Regions from separate parts of the Homo sapiens genome. Here regions 1, 2 and 4 are each linked to region 3. Evidence: promoter capture Hi-C in 16 types of primary human blood cells and fetal thymus (Javierre and others, 2016). All regions are on one chromosome and are shown on one strand. Each heading gives the region's core, a stretch centred on a gene start or on the middle of the fragment in contact. The rest is flanking DNA. Distances are from core to core; before and after follow the strand shown.

Region 1 (2,700 bases), core at 141-2,640, 320 kb after region 3:
TCTCTAACTGCCCCAGTTCCACTGCCTTCACTATTCCTGGCTTCTCTTAGCCTCTGACACCCTTAGCTAATCTAGCCTGGGGTGGAAAATCTTTTTCTTTTGGCTCAGCTGAGACTGTCCTAATTTCCTAAAAATAACACTTCAATGGGAAACTAAAGGAAAAGGAAATCAAAGAGACATATGAAACTCAAGAAACAAACAGTTTCAGAGCACCGATTTCCTAGGTGGTGACTAGCTGCCACAGATTACCTTGGGTGGCACTTGGCCCTTGTCCAACTCAACTTCGTATACAATGTTGCCATGCGTCCCAAGCTCAGGAGGATATACCTTGTGTATTTGGTCTCTTTTAGTTATAAGATGGACACTCAGTTTGAGCAAGCTTAAGTCCCAAACCATGCAATATTTTGCTCATAAACTCAAGGAAGGGTTGAAACTGGAAAGTGGGAATGGGCAGAGATGTATCTTAGAAATAACTAGAACTCAAGCGCCAAGCAACACCAGACTCCTCTCCCTCTACCATTGAAGAGTTCCTGCAGCCATTTCCTATTTTTAGAATTTAAAAAATTCCAGGTTTGGCTTGGGTCAAATGCTCACTGTGAAGCATTCAACTGTAGTTGGGTATTGGGTATTGAAACGTCTCTTCTACGGCTATCATATTCTCATATATGCTATTTTGATATCGCTATCATATTTTCATATTGTAGAAGAGGCATTTCAAATCAGTCAGAAAAACATAGACAATGTCATAAGTGGTGCTGGACAAATAACTATCCAAATGAAACATAAAGTTAGATTCTTTGCCTCACACCATGCATACAAATGAGTACTATGTGGACTAAAAGGCAAAAAAAGTTGTGAAAATATTAGAAAAAAATATAGAAGAATATCTTTATGCCCTTGGAAGAGGGATAGCATTCTTAAGACATGAAAAGCAAAAAGCATATGGGAAAAGAGGAATACATCCAAAAAGCATACCTCAAACAAAGTTCAAAGTCAAGTGATAATGGTGAACATATTTGAAATTGTTTTACGTTATGTATTCTAGAAAACGGACTTCGAGATACAGACATTTGCACACAGCAAATTTATTAGGAGGACTGTTAGGATTGGTATCTATAGGGGAGTGAGAGAAGCGGGACAGGGCAGAGGGTGAAGTTGATCTGCGATGCAGTCACACTAAAGGGTTAGGTGATCCTGTTCCACAGAGAGCTCTGGAGCTGAGCTGTCTTGAATTGAGGAAAGGAGGTTGGTCTTTAAACACCCGCAGTGACCAGTAATTGGGTGTGGGCAGCTTCCAGGGAGGGGGCATGACCTGGGTGAGGGCAAGTTCTAGATAAAAACTCAGCTGAGAGTTGGCAGCTGTGTACATTTCCAGCATCTGGGAGAATAAGTGCTTCATTTCTTTTTCTTTTCTTTTTTTTTTTTTTTTTTTCGGTAGAGACAAGGTCTCTCTCTGTTGCCCATGCTGGCCTTGAATTCCTGGGCTCAAGCAATCTTCCTGTCTTGGCCTATCAAAGTGCTGGGATTACAAGCATGAGCCACTATGCCTAGCTGTATGCTTCATTTCTAAAGGGAGTATATTAGTCTATTCTCACACTGCTATAAAGATCCTACCCAAGACCGGGTAATTTATAAAGAAAAGAGGTTTAATTGGCTCATACTTCCACATGGCCGGGGAGGCCTCAGGAAACTTACAATCATGGTGGAAGGTGAAAGGGAAGCAAGGCACATCTTCATAAGGTGGCAGGAGAGAGAGAGAGTGCAGGGGAAACTGCCACTTTTAAAACCATCAGGTCTCATGAGAACTCTCTCACTATCACGAGAAGACAATGGGGGAAACCACCCTCATGATTCAGTCAACTCCCACCAGGTCCCTCCCTCAACACATGGGGATTACAATTTGAGATGAGATTTGGGTGGGGACACAGAACCAAACCATAGGAGGGAATCTGGGTGGTGCAACACAGCATCTGCTGCAGATGTATATGTATATATGACCTATCTTATATTTACATAGATAATATGTATCACACAAAAGAGTAGTACCCATATTTTTATTCATTTTTCTTTCGACTTGGGGTCTCGCTTTATTGCCCAGGCTGATCTCAAACTCCTGGACTCAAGTGATCCTCCCACCTTGGCCTCCCAAAGTGCTGGGCTTACAGGTGTGAGTCACCACTCTCAACTTATTATCATATAAAGAACTTCTACTTCTCAATAAGAACAAGACACAGAACCCAACAGAGAACTTTGCAAAAGTTATAAATAGGAAATTTTCAGAAGAAACGCAAATGGCCAATGTACCTAAGTCAAGATATTTAACCTGACCAGTGATCAGAGAACTGCAAATTAAAACAAGATGCCATTATACCATTTTAAACCATCACATTGTCAAAAATTTGAAAGCTTAGCAAATATTGGCAAAAATATAGAAAAATAGATATTTTTATACACTGCTGCTATGAGTGGAAGAAATGGTGGAGCCATTTCTACCAGCAATTCAGCTTCTTAATATCTGCAGTAACATTAGCCTATGTATGTAAAGAGGAGGCATTGTTCATATTAGCAAAAAAATGGAAATAGCCTAAAAGTCCATCAGTTGGCGAAAAACTAATCTGTGGTATGATTATACAATCTGACATGATTATATAATAATTATATACTAATATACTTATATATACTAATATACTTATAAATATA
Region 2 (2,700 bases), core at 79-2,578, 280 kb after region 3:
TAAGGAAAGTTGGAGGAAAGATGACAAAAGTTTTCTGCTTTTGCTCAAAGACAAAAGTGATTCTATTACAAGGGCAAAGCTTACAGCTGTTCTCTGCAGCACAAGAACTGGATGAATACCTGCTTAGCCAGGCACCTGGCTTTGGTTTGAGCTCTCTAAGGCACTTGTGACTTAGGAAATCACAAGATTCAGCCCAGAAGAAGAAATAACTAGTTTCTGTAGGTCAATCTGTCCACAACTGGCATTTTATGGCCTTGAGAAATGGCTAATCCAATACAAAAAGTTAAAATTATGAAAGCTTGTGACTCTGGGACAAAATAAACAAGAAAAAAAAAACACACCCACACGCATGCACATACACACTTAAAACAAAGAGAAGATTATGTATGTACAAAGGGGAGCTGGGATTCAAGTCTTGCTTTGTGTAATTAGAGTCCTTGTTTCTTTCTTTCTCTTTCTCTTTTTTTTTTTTTTGAGACAGAGTTTTGCTCTTGTTGCCCAGGCTGGAGTGCAATGGTGTGATCTCGGCTCACTGCAACCTCCACCTCCACTGCAACCCCCATCTCCCAGGTTCAAGCGATTCTCATCCCTCACCCCCTCACCCATGCGCCACCACGCCCAGCTAATTTTTGTATTTTTAGTAGAGACAGGGTTTCACCACGCTGGCCAGGATGGTCTCGAACTCCTGACCTCAGGTGATCCGCCCACCTCAGCCTCCCAAAGTGCTGGGATTACAGGTGTGAGTCACCAAGCCCAGCCTAGAGTGCTTGTTTCTAAGTACTATACTATATTGCCTTTTCCAAATGAATGAATGCACAAACACAGATTGGTGGTTCTCAGACTGGCCTATTCTCTTCTTGGCAATGTTGGGACTCTGGTTAAAACAATCTGTTGACCAGGAGATGCATTCTTAAAGAGCATTTCAGCCTTTTTCATTGAACTTGGAATTGCAAGGTACATACTCTTAGCCATTGAAGCTACCTGCATAGTGCGAAAATGCTGACAGGGAGGCAGATTAACTCATGGTCCCCACAAACCATCACCTCCCTCCTCAGAAAACAAGCCTCTAGGCTGTTTCCCACATCCCCTTACTGTATGTAGCTCCAGGAGTGACAACTTAGTAGGACCTGTACTTAGTTCTTTCTTCTCCTTAACCAGCAGGAATGAAAGAGACAACTATAAAAGTCCAGCTCTGGCCCGACTCCCATAACCCTGCTGAGTTGGGAATACAGCTCCTGGAATATATATATATATATATATACACACACACACACATATATATATATACACACACACACATATATATATATATATACACACATATATTTTTTTTTTTTCCAGAAAAATCCCTCTGGGGTATGAGCACTATTTTCAGTTCTGGTTCAACTTTTCATTGAGATTCTATGTGGATAAGAGGATCTTGTAGTGAAAAAAAGATAAAAAGCAGTGTTTTCATCTGAGTGTGAGAAACCATGTGTGCCTAGAGGTGGGAGAACTGAGTGTTCAGAAGGCAGAAAAAATATAACTGGAAGAGGGGCACCAGAGAAGGAAGAGAAAATAAAAATAAAAGAAGGAAAGTAGGTGACTGTGGTAAGAAATGACTGTGATCTGGCCTGGCTTCAAGTTCTATTGGGACTAAGACCGCCCACCTGGGGAAGGAGTGTGTCTGTCTATTCAGTCACTGGTCCGTCACCACTGGTGATTTACTTAGAACCAATAAGCAGGCTGCCGGTTTTACAGCCCGCTGCTGATTCACTGGGGCACTTGGCCAGCCTTGGGCTGATTGATCTATCACCTGGTCAATACCTTCCCACCATTCTCCCAGCCCTCACCGCCCCAGTACCCTAGCTCCTAACTCAGATCCCCCGTGCTCCTGCTCGCAAGGCAGGATAGAGCTCATAACCAAACACTCTTCCTTTTCACTTTTCTCCTTTACAACATCCGCCCACAGAACAAGCGATTGTAACAGCAACGAGAGAGCAAGGATGGGGCCGCAGATGTTACGATTGCTATCAGTTTCAGAGGGCGAAATGTGGAATCGCTCCTTTGTACCTCGAAGGCTGGTTTAAGGCGTGGGGAATAAGGGGAAAACAGCGTCGGGCCATATCCCATTGAAGAGTCCGAAACTCAAGCGTTTGAGGTAGCCTTACCCTCGGGATTCCCTGGAGCCAGAATCAGGGGGTGCTTAGACAAAAGAAAAACAGGCCAGGGAAAAGCAGTGTGCCCCGGACTGCCGCCCTTTCTCACCGCCTGGGGTCTCGGGTGTCCTCCTGGCACCCAGGACAGCTGGACCTCGCCTCCAACCCACCGAACTCTGGGCTCCGCCATCTTGGAGCCCCCCCAGGGGAGTTTTCCAAGAAAGCTTTGGTGGGGATTCTATGTTTCCCTCCCGCCCCGCAACAAGAATTCTCAAGAGAAGGCAATACATTTGCACAGACCTGATTTGGGGCGCAGCCATATACAGAAGGAAGGGCAGAAGGAGGAGCAACAGCGGGAACATGAGCTCAACCATCTCTGCCGGCTGCAGCGGCACCAGAGCGGGATGCTCCAGCGTTGCTCGCCGACTATGGCTTCTCTTTCTAGACACGCCCCAATTCAAATTGCGACAGCCCGGGGAGCAGACCTTCTGGGAAATGTAGTCCAGAGCTTGACAGCCTCAGGCTGGCTACGTGGGAGCGCTGCCGCCAACGCTGGCAGAAG
Region 3 (2,700 bases), core at 64-2,563:
TTGTTCAAATTACGCTCTGTGTGGTGGCTCACGCCTGTTATCCCAGCACCTTGGGAGGCTAAGGTGGGCAGATGACTTAAACCCGGGAGTTCAAGACCTGCCTGGGAAACATGGCGAAACCCTGTCTCCACAAAAAAATACAAAAATTAGCTGGGCATAGTAGTGGATACCTGTAGTCCCAGCTACTAGGGAAGCTGAGGTGAGAGGACCACCTGAGCCTGGGAAGTCGAGGCTGTGGTGAGCCAGGATTGTGCCACTGCACTCCAGCCTGGGTGACCCTGTCTCAAAAAAAAAAAAAAAAAAAAAAGGTCAAATCAGGAAAAAATTTTGAAATAACAAACTTCCTTTTGCAGCTGCTCTTTTGTTCATCTTCTACCATAATCCCAGGCACTGAGTTTTTGTTTGCACTCGTTTGCCCTGGGCCACCTGGGGTGGTGGGGAAGGACTGAGGAGGGGAGGTCAGAACATGCAGTTCCTGTCCCAGCTATTACTGGCTCTGGAGCTCTGGGCAAGCTACTTCATCTTTCTGGTCCTCAGTTTCCCCGTCTGTAATAGAGTGATGTCAGTACCCACCGTGTATGGCACTGGGGAGGCAGTAAAGGTTTGGGTCAACCTGAGTGGGTCTGATCCCGATCCTGGCTCCACCACCCACTGCCTTCACCGCCCCGAGCAAGTTCCCTAACTCCTCTGGGCTTCGTTTTCCCCCTTGATGAAAGCAGGGCTGCTGGGAGGATGACATGAGACAATATCCAGGGCTGGCCAACAGTAAGTGCTTAAGACACATAGTAGCATTCCTCCTTCACAGGTTGTAAATTACAGAGCACGCCTATATTATCTTAGTAAATATTATTTAAATATCATACCATTCATAATATTTTAACAAGTTTTAATTAAGACACACGCTTCAGTACCCCTGCCCCGACTCCATACTGCGCTAACCAAGTGGGATTCTCCTCCTTGCCTGTGCGCTGAGCCACCGCTTACCCCGCGTCCCCTCGGACATGCAGCTCTGCCCATCAGGGCCACAGGCGGCCCGGTCCCACCATGGGGGTTGGGGATGGGAACCAGAGCATGCCCGTTCCGGGGCGCGCGTCTGGCCCCGCTCTAGGGAGCCGCGTCGGCGGGGCCCCACCCGGGCAATGTCCCGAAGCTCGACGCGCACTCACCCTCTTGACCAGGAAGCCCTCCTTGAGCACGCCGTCCTCCATGTCGCCGCCCGCACGCCAGGGCCACCCCAGGTGCGCCTTCCCCGCGCCTCGCGCTCCTCGGCACCCGCGCAGCCCGCGCAGTCCGCGCCCACGGCGCCCAGGAAGCAGCTCCGACGCGGCAGGGCGACGCCTCCCTGGCGCGTGTCCAGAGCCTGAGGCCCCGGGGCAGGAAGTCAGACCAAGTCGGGATTTCTGACGTGACGTTTCCACCCAAAGGTGCTCCAGGGTCGGTGGTTGGTCCTCCAGGTACAGAGCGGCCAACCCCGCCCCATCCAGGTGCGCCCCGCGCCCCTCACTGTTCCAGTCTCTCTGCTCAGCGTCCTTCGCCAGGTGCTTCCCGGGCACTTAGCGCATTGCCCTCGAGGAACGCTTATCGAATTGAACATAACCGACAGGACTCCAGGATTTGGAGCCATTCCTGAGCTCATTGCAAGTAGGAGATGGGACAGTGGGTGAGCCGAAACTGGTATGGGAATTTTATCCTGGCCTCTGATGGGGGCAGAGAAGACCTCTCAGTAACAGGAAGGTCACAGTTTTAAGGCGGCAGGCACAGTTTGCAGGGCCCCCTGTCCGCAGGATATACCCCGCTCCCTCAAAAAAGATGAAGCCGAAAATTCCATCATTAAGGACAAAATTTAAGGGGGCACCAAGGAGTCCAGTAACCTAGACAAATTATATATAGAGAGAGATGATTGGTTTTTTGGGGTTTTTTGTTTGTTTTTTGAGACAGGGTCTTTCTCTGTCACCCAGGCTGGAGTGCAGTGGTGTGATCATAGCTCACTGCAGCCTTAAACTCTGGGCTTAAGATCCTCCTGCCTCAGCTCCCCAAGTAGCTAGGACTACAGGAGTGCACCACCATGCCTGGCTGGTTTATTTTTATTTTTCGTAGAGATAGGGTGTTGCTATGTTGCCCAGGCTGGTCTTGATTCCTGGCCTCAAGCAATCCTCCGGCCTGGGCTTCCCAAAGTGCTGGGATTACAGGCAAGAGCCACCGTGTAAGACCTAGAAAAATAATATTTTAATGCATTTTTTAAAATCAAAATTAATGTCAAAAAATCCACGATGAACAAAATGCTAACATTTTAAATAGATAGGATCAACAACAATGTTCTATCAGGCCATATTGGAGCCTGGAACAGAAGGAAACTCAGTCAAATAGTACTGATTCTGTCTAACAATCCTTAGAACACAGTCACACATTTTTTTAAAATTTATTTTTATTTATAGAGACAGGGTCTCACTATATTGTCCAGACTGGTCTCGAACTCCTGGGCTCAAGCAGTCCTCCTGCCTCAGCCTCCCAAAGTGCTGGGATTGTGGGCATGAGTCATGGGGCCGGTCCATATTATTTGTGCTCCAGTTTGAAGGGCCCTGTCAGGACTCTTCACCAGGCATGGGAAAGGCCCTCAGATGCCTGTAAGGGAAGAGAAGGCTCTAGAGAGGAAGAAGGTGAACCAGCTTGTGGAAGGCGGGGGGTGCCTTTCAGAACCAG
Region 4 (2,700 bases), core at 74-2,573, 300 kb after region 3:
AGGTGGCCTTGTTATGAAAATAAAGCCCCTTTAGTAATCAAAATAAAAAAATGTTCCCTTCTCTTTTTTTTTTCTTTTGCTGGCCATTTTTCTCCTACACCACCCTTTTTTGTGTGTGGGAATTTAACCACTTCAGAGGACTTATTCCCCATAATTTGGAACTTTCCTTTGGATTTGATCAAGTTGGATAGAATTGATGAAACCCAACAGGAAAAAGACTGAAACAACAATAAAAACAGAAATAAACAATGGCACAACTTATATGATCACTGAGCACTCTAATGGTAAGCAGAAATTAAAACCAGCTTTTTGTTAACTTTAGCCAAGACAAAACCTCAATTCAGCTACATACCTAGGGATGGGTCTCAGGCTGAAAACAACTCTCTACCATCCTAGAAGCAGGAAAAACAAACAAACAAACAAACAAACAAAAAACAAAACAAAAAAAAACCTCATTTTCCCTATTGGAAGTGAGCTCAAACTCCATAAAGGAGTTACCTGCTTTCCATCGTCATGGAAGCAGAAAAACTTGCCTTTCTTGTTGAAAGCAAGTAAAACTCCAAAAAAAAAAAAAAAAAAAAAAAAAAAGAGGGGATGTACAGCAAAATAAGCTTTAGATCTTGACCAAATTTTGGGACATCAGGGATTCTCTGGAGGGGATATTCCCAGACCTCAGCAAATTGTCCTGTTGGTTTGAGCCATAAAGTTAGCTCATGCTGGTACCAGGCACTGATAGGAGATTTGTCAAAGGTCAGGGGCATCTCCATTGAGAATCCTTTTGTGGTTAACAAAATGTAAACCCAGAAAATTTGAGACAGGTCTCAGTTAATTTGTAAAGTTTATTTTGCCAAGGTTGAGGGCGCGTACCCAAGACACAGCCTCAGGAGGTCCTGACGACATGTGTCCAGGATGGTCAGAGCACAGTTTGGTTTTATACATTCTAGGGATACGTGAGACATCAATCAACATATGTAAAATGAACATCGGTTTGGTCTGGAAAGGAGGGACAACTCGAAGCAGGGAGGGGGCTTCCAAGTCACAGGTAGGTGAGAGAAAAACAGCTGCATTCTTTTGAGTTTCTGTTTAGCCTTTTCAAAGAGGCAACCAGATATGCATTTATCTTAATGAGGAGAGGTATGACTTTGAATAGAATGGGAGGCAGGTTTGCCCTAAACAGTTCCCAGCTTGAATTTTCCCTTTAGCTTAGTGATTTTGGGGGCCCAAAATGTTTCCTTTCACAGTAGCAACTATTAGATTTAAAAAAATTGTAATTTCCTATTTACTTTTTTCTTGTAATTAACTTCTTGCTTTACTTTTGAGACAGGGTCTTGCTCCGTCTCCCAGGCTGGAGTGCAGTGGTGTGATCACAGATCCCTGCAGCCTCCACCTTCAGGGCTCAAGTTCTCCTCCTGCCTCAGCCTCTTGAGTAGCAGGGACTGTAGGAGTGCACTCCATGGCCAGCTAATTTTTTTTTCATTTTTTTAGTAGAGCTGAGATCTGATTATGTTGCTCTTGGTCTCAAACTCCTTGCCTCAATAAATCCTCCTGCCTTGGCCTCCCAAAATGCTGGGATTACAGGTGTGAGCCTCTGTGCCCAGCTTTGTTTTATTTTTGTACCTAATATTTACTCATAGTTTTATATTCTTTTTATTAAAAAGAGTTCCCTAGCCTTTCAGAAGGAACTGCCGTCTTCCAGTTATTCTCCAAAATGAGGAACACTAAGGGAAAGAGGAGGGACACCAATATATGTTCTCTAGGCCTTTTAGAAAACATGGAGTTGTTCCTTTGGCCACAACCATGCAAATCTACAAGAAAGGTTATGTTGCAGACATCAAGGGAATGGGAACTGTTCAAAAATGCCCCACACATGTTATCATGGTATTAGGGACTGAAATGGGATATAAGTTGAAAAGAGACTAAGGGATTTTTGAAATTAAATGTTAGGCAATTTTTAAAAATAAAAGAGGGCCAATAAGCCCAGGCCTTACACCTGCACTGTGGTGAGGTGCTCAAGATTGCAGAGGCAAACCTGTGCAAAGCTTCTGCCAACTCAAGGCATTCACTGAATGCCCCACACATGTTACCACGGCAAAACTGGAAGAGCCTATCAACAGTGTTCTTGGACACAAACAAATTAAAGGCAAGATTCTTGCTGAGAGAATTAATGTGTTTATTGAGCATATTAAGCAGTCTAAGGGCCAAGATAACTTCCTGAAGCATGTAAAGGAAAAGGATCAGAAAAAGAAGGAAGCAAAAGAGAAAAGTACCTGAAGTGCCAGCCTTCTCCACTTTGTGAAGCTCACTTTGTGAGAACCAATGGAAAGAAGCCTAAGTTGCTTGGAACCTATTCCCTACGAATTCATAGCATAATAGCCGTTAAAAAATAAAAGGGGGGGAGCCCCCTAAATTGAATAGACTTCAGGCCCTACAATATCCAGATCTACTTCTGATGATGTTTTATTTCATAAGCTGGGCAGTAAGTCATGCTGAGTATTCTTTAAATGATTCTCTATATTATTTGGTTTACTCCAAACAGAAAATAGCAAAACATTTTGTCTAAGAGGCATTTCTTTATCTGTCCTTGTCCTGATGTTGGATGCCTATGACTTCACCGATTGCTGTAAGCCCTTGAGTTGGCAGAAGCTTTGCACAGCTTTGCCCCCTGCCATCCTGAGCACCTCACCACAGTGCAGGCGTAAG

Evidence for each region. Contacts are between HindIII fragments. The CHiCAGO score rates a contact against its expected background, and 5 or more counts as called.
Region 1: a contact is called between a fragment that was not itself captured here and the fragment with the promoter of PLEK2 in region 3, in 1 of 17 cell types (total B cells). The highest score is 6.3, in total B cells.
Region 2: a fragment that was not itself captured here is called in contact with the fragment with the promoter of PLEK2 in region 3 in 2 of 17 cell types (M0 macrophages and erythroblasts); the score reaches 6.2 in M0 macrophages.
Region 4: a contact is called between a fragment that was not itself captured here and the fragment with the promoter of PLEK2 in region 3, in 1 of 17 cell types (M0 macrophages). The highest score is 5.6, in M0 macrophages.

The regions. Positions count from the first base shown.
Region 1 is chr14:67,735,676-67,738,375 of GRCh38, forward strand. It overlaps a transcript of ZFYVE26 not described here. Among named protein-coding and RNA genes, the nearest start is that of RDH12, 35 kb to the left of the region's middle. The HindIII fragment of the contact is 2,027 bases long and covers 378-2,404 here.
Region 2 is chr14:67,693,192-67,695,891 of GRCh38, forward strand. RDH11 (retinol dehydrogenase 11) reads right to left here and starts at 2,573. Exons shown (of 7, transcript NM_016026.4): 1 at 2,439-2,573. The coding sequence starts at 2,512. It also overlaps a transcript of GPHN not described here. RefSeq lists a silencer at 1,681-1,740 and an enhancer at 2,090-2,700. The HindIII fragment of the contact is 2,064 bases long and covers 297-2,360 here.
Region 3 is chr14:67,410,852-67,413,551 of GRCh38, forward strand. PLEK2 (pleckstrin 2) reads right to left here and starts at 1,314. Exons shown (of 9, transcript NM_016445.3): 1 at 1,167-1,314. The coding sequence starts at 1,208. It also overlaps a transcript of GPHN not described here. The HindIII fragment of the contact is 5,074 bases long and covers 1-2,700 here.
Region 4 is chr14:67,712,837-67,715,536 of GRCh38, forward strand. The region is part of intron 1 of RDH12 (retinol dehydrogenase 12); the gene reads left to right. It also overlaps a transcript of GPHN not described here and the pseudogene RPL21P9. Among named protein-coding and RNA genes, the nearest start is that of RDH12, 12 kb to the left of the region's middle. The HindIII fragment of the contact is 1,428 bases long and covers 610-2,037 here.